Regions from separate parts of the Homo sapiens genome. Here regions 2 and 3 are each linked to region 1. The links are contacts of gene promoters, found by promoter capture Hi-C in blood cells and fetal thymus (Javierre and others, 2016). All regions are on one chromosome and are shown on one strand. Each heading gives the region's core, a stretch centred on a gene start or on the middle of the fragment in contact. The rest is flanking DNA. Distances are from core to core; before and after follow the strand shown.

What was found. Contacts are between HindIII fragments. The CHiCAGO score rates a contact against its expected background, and 5 or more counts as called.
Region 2: a fragment that was not itself captured here is called in contact with the fragment with the promoter of KCNAB1-AS1 in region 1 in 3 of 17 cell types (naive CD4 T cells, monocytes and total CD4 T cells); the score reaches 6.1 in naive CD4 T cells.
Region 3: a fragment that was not itself captured here is called in contact with the fragment with the promoter of KCNAB1-AS1 in region 1 in 1 of 17 cell types (non-activated CD4 T cells); the score reaches 5.4 in non-activated CD4 T cells.

Annotation. Positions count from the first base shown.
Region 1 is chr3:156,445,591-156,448,370 of GRCh38, forward strand. KCNAB1-AS1 (KCNAB1 antisense RNA 1) reads right to left here and starts at 1,346. Exons shown (of 3, transcript NR_046618.2): 1 at 1,195-1,346; 2 at 444-506. All of the region lies in intron 2 of KCNAB1 (potassium voltage-gated channel subfamily A regulatory beta subunit 1), which reads left to right. The HindIII fragment of the contact is 8,289 bases long and covers 1-2,780 here.
Region 2 is chr3:157,069,715-157,072,608 of GRCh38, forward strand. No RefSeq gene overlaps it. Among named protein-coding and RNA genes, the nearest start is that of LINC02029, 11 kb to the right of the region's middle. The HindIII fragment of the contact is 2,722 bases long and covers 277-2,894 here.
Region 3 is chr3:157,091,427-157,094,543 of GRCh38, forward strand. The region is part of intron 3 of LINC00880 (long intergenic non-protein coding RNA 880); the gene reads right to left. The region is part of intron 1 of LINC00881 (long intergenic non-protein coding RNA 881); the gene reads left to right. Among named protein-coding and RNA genes, the nearest start is that of LINC00881, 3.1 kb to the left of the region's middle. The HindIII fragment of the contact is 1,534 bases long and covers 787-2,320 here.

The DNA of each region.
Region 1 (2,780 bases), core at 96-2,595:
TTAGAGACACTTTCTTAGTAAGGGTGAGAATGCTTACTGATTGAACAAGCAATTATTACTCACTTACCCTGTGCCAGGCTCCAGTGCAATGGCTAAAATTTAAAATTTAAATTAAACTTAAACTTAGTCCCTGATCTCAGGATAGTTGCAGTCTAATGAGGAAGTCACAGCCAAAAATAAACTATGCGGTTACAATATAGTGTGGTCAATATGGTAATAGCAGTTAGTTCAAAATGGTAGGAGAAGAGTAAATGGAATGACTTCTTCTCCTTTCAAAGAAACCATAGAATCATGAAATAATAGAGATGAAGGAAGCTCAAGGTTCCTAATTTTGTGCATAAGGAAACAAGAAATCAAGAGATTGGAGGTTTCTCAGAGTCACAGAGTTAATGCAAGAGAACCTAAAAAATTCTAATGATGTAGCAAGACATACTTTAACTCACCAGGGGAAGTGCTAAGAAACTATGGCTTAGCAGCACTGGACTCTGAAGCTGGAGTTCTGGGTCCTGAAAAATAAGTAGAATTTGGACATAAAGGCATGGGGAAGGTTTAGATTTTCAGTGGAAGGCTCAGCCCATAGCTCAAAGGAGAACATGCTCACCAGGGTAATGACCTGGAGCTTAAGGATCTCAGGTGGTGGCCAACAGCTTAGGGCTCCCTCCTCCACATCAACTCTAGTTTTGGGCTTACACCTATTTCTTGCTGGATACGCAATTTAGAGGGATGCTCCCACCTCCAGTTCCACTCCTCTTTGGGGGTTATACTATACAACTGAGACATTGAACATGTTAATTTTACCTGGTGTATTGCTTAATTTCAATGTGACCTAGGGTTTGAACCTCTTATCTTAAATTCTTTAGTGACGTAACAGATTAACACCTCAAAATAGATGAAATGTCTCTCAATTATGACTACATTTGGTCAGTCTTGACTATATTAAGCTGCAGTTCACATGTGCTCTGTTTACCAAACTTAAAATCATTAAATCTATATTGAAATGTGTTGAATTGGCTCTCCATTCTCCCCATACTCTGACCTTGGTGTTCTCCTAGAGGTTTCACCTTCTCTCACACCCTACACATCCTTTTACACCAGTAAATACTATTGCTTCCCCTTCAAAATTTATCCAAAATTCAACCACTCCTCGCCATCCTCACTACCACCACCTTGGACCAAACCACTGTCATGTCTCACCTGGATTATGGGAACAGCCTCCTAACTGGTCCCCCATGTTTCAGCCTCGCCTCTGCAGTCTATCCTTAGCACAATAGCAGAGTGTTCCTTTTAAAAGAAAGTCAGATTGTGTCACTTCTGTATTCAAAATTATTCACTAGCCTTTCCTAGGTCCTTCCTATGATTGACATGACATGATCTGGCCCCCATGAACCTCACCTTCTCTTCTCTGGCCACACTGGCTTCCTCCTTGTCCTTGCTCATGTTGAGCAAGCCCCTACCTCACTGCTCCCTGCAACTGGAACACTCTCCCTCCAGATAAGCGCCTGGTGAGCCCCTTCACTTTCTTTAGGTCTTTTCTTGAAAGCTCCTTTCTTAGTGAATCTTATCTGGCCACCCTATCTAAAATTTCAATACTGATTCCTAGACATTTCATATACTCTATCCCTGCTTTATAAAATTGATTCTCTAACATTCATCAGTCAACATTATGTATTTTATTTTACATTTTATTTATTTGTAAAATTAACATTTATAAACACTATATATTTAACTTATTTTTGTTATTCCTTTTTCTTTACCCATATATCTGTTTCACGATGGGAGAAATAATTACCAGTTTTGTTCACTGTTGCATCCCAATAAACTAAGTACAACACCTGGCACACGGTAGACTCAATAAATACTTGTTGAATGAAAAAGTGAGGAAATGTTAACTGTGGCATAATAAATATTAATATTATAATTGCATTTACATATTCTCTTCTTGATAGCTATAATAATATATTCAAACCATAGGGAGACCAACCTGCACTATAGAATTTTATAACCTTAAGATGATTTAGACCCAAATTAAGGGACATTCTACAGAATACTTGATGAGTACTTTTAAAAGTGTCTACATCATGAAAGACAGGGAAAGACTGAGGAAGTGTCACATATTGGAGTGGATTAAGAAAACATACAATTAAATGCAATGTTGGATGCTGCTTAAGATCCTGGAAGAGAAAAAAAGACAATGAAATTCCAAAAAGATCTATTGTATTAGTACTGTACCCATGTTAATTCCCTGGTTTTGATAATTGCACTATGGTGATGTAAGATATTAAAATGATCTCATCTAAATGTCTAAATATCCTTTATACTCCAAGCAAGGCAGTCATTTAAATGGTAAACATGTTTTTTGAATGAGTACGCAAGAAGTAATTACCCTGATAATCACCAAACGATAATGAGGTAACCAAGATAGATGTGTGTGGTGGGCAGTTTTCTTCTTTTTACCTTTCATCCATCATTTTTCTGTGCTATGGTAGATTTACTCCAAGGAACCTAACACAGGTTTTCAAAGCAAATATTCCTTGGTCCATAAAGGGGTTTAATCAGAAGACACAAAATAGTTCAAAGAGTTATCTTTATACTCTCCCTTCTTTTAAAAGGTTAGAAATAACAATTGTCAGTTTAGTAAAATCATCTTGTAAATAACATCCCACTAATTTGAGATTACACAGTGAAATAATTGTATGCCATTCTAGGTCTCAGGAAAGCATGTTCTCATTAGAGGGAGAAAAATGGTTAAGAAAACTGTCACAGAGGGTTTTTGAGAATCA
Region 2 (2,894 bases), core at 388-2,887, 620 kb after region 1:
ATTGCCCAGAGATCAAGGAGGTAGACTTGGGGGTAGAGGGATACAGGCTTAAAGGGCAGTAGGAAGCCACCCAAGCTCAAGATTTATTGGAGGGCAGATTCTCATCTCTATACTGATTGAGTGACCCCAGCCAGTGAGATCTCCTGGAAGCAGATGTGGGGAACAGTTGTGATTGTTGTAAGTCAGAGGACAAAGTTCATCTGGAGAGAGCATCTGTCCAGGGAATCTCTGGAGACTGGAGCCACTGTAGGAAATTCGGGATTTCAACAGAGAAAAAGCTTCCCTTGGGTGTGGGCAGGCAGGGGATATCCCTGGGGATCTTGACCGTAAGTGACCACCAAGATGTGCTCCAACCCAGACTTCCCTGACTCTGGGCAGCCTGTGGACTCTCCTACCCTGGCTCAGAATCTCCGCCTTGGTTACAGTTCGAACTGAGATGACCTCTTGTTTCCCATCAAAAATGCACCCTTTTCCTCTCAACATCCCCAGTATGGGGCTCACTGCCACATCATTTGCCCCACTCCAGGGCAGGGCCCACCCGGGAAAAAGCCCTGGTTTTCTTTCTGAAGACCACCCTAGTTTATAATAGCAAATAAATATGGATTATTTTTCTCAGTACAAGTTCCTGGGTATGGGACTCAGAGAGTTGCTTTTGTCAGCTCATGAGATGGAGAAGGAAACAGTGTGGGGAAATCCCAAACCCTTGGCTACCCCATTTCCTAAAGTGAACTTTACCCCTGGCATCATTAAGTGACTTTAACAGCCTTGTACTTGCAAAGTGAACTAAAAAGGCAAATGTATAAAAATCAGGTCCTTTTGGGGGGATCACAGAAATGCTTTATGAGATCCTTTTACAGCTGCCAGTAATCATTTACTCACGTTTTGCTCAACACAGGGGAGGTCCTCTTCTGCTCAAAAGAAAGGCAACTTCCTATAAAACAGACTTGCGTAGAATCCTTGGCAGGGAGAAGAAAGCAGTGAGATCACTTCTAGGCATGGCTTCTGGGGACTGCTGATTTCCTTGACGATAATGCCAGTCAGGCCCATAGCAGTGCCTGGCAGCTGCTTCCCTCCCACACCAAAGAAGCCCAGGCCTCCTTAGGTTTACAGGCCCCTGGCCATGGGCTCTCTGTAGGAAGTTGGTTGTGTATTTGTTCTGGAAGTGAGCCCTTGGGGCCAATGCACCAGGCTATCACTGGTAATGTCTTCTTTGGAGCAAATTCAGGTAAACGACTCTGCTACATGTGGCCTTGTTAAAACAGACAGTTCTGCTCAGCACATTTCCCTGGACATTCTAACACTCGTCGTTACACAGGAGTGAGTAACCAAAGGCAAAAGGCATCCATGTTAGCACTTAAGGTCTGTTTCCACTTTGGGTTCCAGTCCCATGGCCTGTGTCCTTTTCCTCAGAAACTGTGGTCTCACGGGGTACCCTCTTCCTCAAGCTGATCCTGGCAAACAGATGTGGTGCCAACTCTGACCATTGCTCCTTGGAGTTGGAGGTACAGATTACTTGTCAGAATCTTGTGATGTCCTGAGTGGTCTGGGATGCCCCTGCTCAGAACTACCATTTCCTGAATGTTGACTCTTGCAAGGTGTTTACATATGTCATCTGACTTAGTCCTCGCAAGGATCCTGTGCTCATTTCACAAGAAAAAGTCTCCCTCTACCCAGGCAGTGTTCCCCCACATCTGGGCCAAGGAGCCTTACCCGAGGGTAAAACAAAGCTGAGGGGCAAGCAACCACACACCCCATGTTTGGTCTCAAGCACTGGCTGTTTCCTTACAAGTTTAATGTTTTTTAGGAAGATGCTACTTGAGGCCAGGAACAGTAGCTCATGCCTGTAATTCCAGCACTTTGGGAGGCCAAGGCAGGCAAATCAGTTGAGGCCAAGAGTTAGAGACCAGCCTGGCCAACATGGCAAAACCTCATCTCTACTAAAAATACAAAAATTAGCCGGGCGTGGTGGTGCACACCTGTAATCCCAGCTACCTGGGCAGCTGAAGCATAAGAATCAGTTGAACCTGGGAGGTGGAGGTTGCGGCGAGCTGAGATCACACCACTGCACTTCAGCCTGGGTGAGAGAGAGAGAGAGAGAGAGAGAAGAGAAGAGAGAAGAGAGAGGAGAGAGAGAGAGAAGAGAGAAGAGAGAGTAGAGAGAGAGAGAGAGATGACAGAGGAAAGAGAAAGAAGAGAGAAGAGACAGGACAGGAGAGAGAGAAGAGAGAGGAGAGAGAGAGAGGAGAGAGAGAGGAGTGAGAGAGACAGGAGTGAGAGAGAGAGGAGAGAGAGAGAAGAGAGAGGAGACAGAGAGAGAGAGGAGTGAGAGAGAGAGGAGAGAGAGAAAGAAAGAAAGAAAAGAAAAGAAAGAAAGGAAAAAAAGAGAGAAGAAGGGAGGGAGGAAGGGAAAGAAAGGAAGAAGGAAGAAAAAGAAAGAAAGAAAGAAAGAAAAGGAGGAGGAGGAAGGAAGGAAGGAGAGAAAGAAAGGAAGAAAGAGAGAGAGAGAAAGAAAAAGAAGGAAAGAAGGAAGGAAGGAAAGAAGGAAGGAAGGAAGGAAAGAAGGAAGGAAGGAGCTACTTGAAACTCTAGACCTCCTGGTGGGAAAGTGACACCAGGAGGTACCTTGGCTGTGGCTGGCCCAGGGTAGCAAACAGCCCAGGAGTGGGCACAGTGGGCTGTAGAAAACCCCACCAGTTGTGCTATGAATTCTGCTTTTATTTTTCTGAAAGAAACTGAAAATCCTGGGTTTTTGTTTTGGTTTGGGGTTTTTTGTTTTTGTTTTTGAGACAGGGTCTCACTCTCTTACCCAGGCTGGAGTGCAGTGGTGCAATCATGGCTCACTGCAGCCTTGAACTCCTGGGCTCAAACGATCCTCCCACCTCAGCCTCCCAAGT
Region 3 (3,117 bases), core at 304-2,803, 650 kb after region 1:
GGGATTCTGGCCCCAGATAACCCAAAGGAAGGGATCCTCTTCCTTGGTTATTTTTTTTCTACCACTGGAAAGGAAGAAACGTACATGGGAGGTTTAGAAATGGACTTGGGGAGCTCTTTAAGCAAGGTTTATCTGTGTCAGGATCTAACCCTGGCAGTAATCTTACCATCAAATGCATTTAATCAGACCCATTTGCATGTGGAGCTGTGCCCAGTGCTATTCAAATAATGTGAAATGGATACTGTTATTACCATGTCAGTCAGGACTATGGGTAGCAAGTGACTGAAACCCAGCTCTAACCACGGGATCCATGGGTTTGCTAAAAACTGGGTAGACTGGCTTTAGGCCCAGTTAGATTTCAGGTGCTTTAAAGGTGTTGTCATGTATGATAGGCATAATGTTTTGAAATTATCAATGTAGTTTTCTCTTTTGCCTTTCAAAGCATATGAACTTAGTCTACTCTAGGCATTTATCTGCCTAGGAAGAAATGAAAGTTCTTTCCAGAAAGTATGCAAAGAGAAAGAAAACATAACACTCAGCTTCTGGCATTCAAAAATAAATTTTGTAGCAAGGCAATAGCCATGTAATTCAAGCCCTTACCTTGAGAAAATATCCTGTACATTCCATTACCTTCCTCTTCAGAGGGTCAAGAACTGAGCTTGGTAGACTAAACCTTAGGGTTTTATATTCGAAAGGTCTAGACCAGGAGAAAGTGGGGATTATCAGAGGACAGAAGTAGCAGAATAAACAAGAGGCCTGAGTGGAGAGATTGTATTGGAAAAGTAAAGCTTAACCACAAAGGCAGAGGGAGATCGTTCCCCCACGCCCCCTCCAGAATTATGAGAGGAAGAGCCCAGTGTTGGTCGGGTAGCAGCAGGCCCTGCTATGGACTTTTCAAGCTCTGTCAGGTCCCTGGGAAGGCTAGATTCTACCCAGACATAGCAGAAAGCCTGTAGCCAGCTTGCCAGAGGTGATCATTGTAGTGAGGTGACTCAGTGGTTTGGGCTGCCGAGGAGACCCCTGGGACCAGGGTTGATAGGAAGTCATGGACAGAAGTCGGAGTCTGTAGCAGCAGGAAAAGCAGAGAAGGAGCTAAGCCAGTCAGGAAACACCTTTGGGAGCACTGCTTCAGATCACCTCAGATGGACACAAGCTCCCCATCCACAGACCCCCACATCAGAGGCTTGCAGTGCACCCAGGACAGACAAAAAGTGGATGTTGTCTCAAAATAATCACATACAAGGCAGCTATGCTCAAGGACCAGTACAAGGACAAAAGTTCCCTTCCTCTCAACACCATGAGGACACAGAAAAGACACACACCACCATACTACCTCCACCCCAGCACACCCTACCTGGATGACGATCAAAACATTTAAAAATCCTTACAGGCTCAGGCGCTGAGGAGTATAAATGGAGATGTCTTACTATGTCCAGAGTTAACCCTTTAGTTGATGGATTATGAGGAGCAGGGACCTCAGGGCAGAACCTGTTTACCAACTGCTCCATGCATACTTTAGTATTTTATCAATGAGGGCAGCCATAATGCCATGTACCTGTTGAATATTGGCCATGCATCCAGATGGCATCTTTATAGGAGGGGAAGGAGAAAGAGGAAGCCATCTGAGAAAGCGAGCATGTTCTCAATGGGGATATTGAATTATTGGATTGAATCAAGATTTAAACCCTAACTAGTGAAGGACCAGACTGGTTATGGACAAACTAGAGAAATTACATTTTATTGGCACATCCAAGTTGCAGTATGAGTTGAATTTACCATCTGTCAGCTTTCTTTGTGTTAGTTTCACTCTCAGGTAGAAGCTCCAAGCATCAGCATACCAAAGGGCAAAGAATCTCTTTCTTAATAGTGCCTGCAAAATCCCAGTCAGGCTCACATTGGCTTAGCTTTGGTAATGTACCCATCTCTGAACCAAGCCCTGATTGGCCAAGCCCAGGTCACATAACTATTCCTAGCGTCATGAACTGAAAGTGGAGTGAGAGGTGGCTCCCCTAAAGAAAATCAAAAGGCTGTGAGCAGAAAAATGGGGTAATGAATGTTGGGTAGGCAGGCACAACAGATAGAACCACTATTGCCTTCTGGAGTTTAACTCTCTAAAACTCAGAAAGCACAGTATCTCCATGGCAGGAAATGAATTGGCACCTGAGCACTTATTCATACATCGATCAGTGTAGAAAACTAACTTTGAAAATCATAAAGCAGATTTATTTTTCCCTCTTAAATTTTCTTCCCACACTGATTAAATTAATTTTAATAATTAGAGTTGGGAAATATAATCAACTAAATATCTAGTATAGTTTAAAGCTTGGTATAAGCTATAAATAGTTCCACTTAGGAAATGCTCAGTCTCCCTTTTTATTGATGTGAAGACAATAACTGTTTTACTTTTTCTCTGTGTATTATTTTCTCTTTTTTAAGAATCACCTTCTTGTTGGGCATGGTAGCTCACACCTGTAATCCCAGCTACTTGAGAGGCTGAGGCAGGAGGATTGCTTGAGCCCAGGAGTTAGGGGCTGCAGTGAGCTATGATTGCACCACTGCAGTCCAGTGACAGAGAAAGACTCTGTCTCTACAAAAAGAAAGAAAAAAAAAACCATAGAATCAACTTCTCCTAAATCCAAGATGAACTGCACAATTAATTTATTGCCTATTTTTAAAAAAGGTTTTTGTAATAAACAAAAGTTAATTATTCCAGATACAAAGAGATCGTAATGGCAGCATCAGCTTTTCTTCACAGACTCTTATTTTCAATGTCACAAAACACTTCCACATAAATTTTTAAATCCACATGATTTTAAAATCAGCCCTAAGTAAAAGGAGATATTTAAAGTCTAGAAAAAGGAAACATAGTCATCAGTTTTACTCCAAAATTTATGCTGTCTTTTGGAAAGAATATTGTTTCATAAAGGATATCTTGATATTTACAATATATAAAACTTAAATCTCAGAATTGAAAAACTCTTTGGGAAAAAAAGTATTAATCATAATAAAGGAAATAAACTCATCATCCTCTAGTGTCTGAGTCACATAATTAATTCAGAAGGGGCTGGCTTTCTCTGCATGTGGGATCCCAGGTATTCATTTATGCATCAAATATTT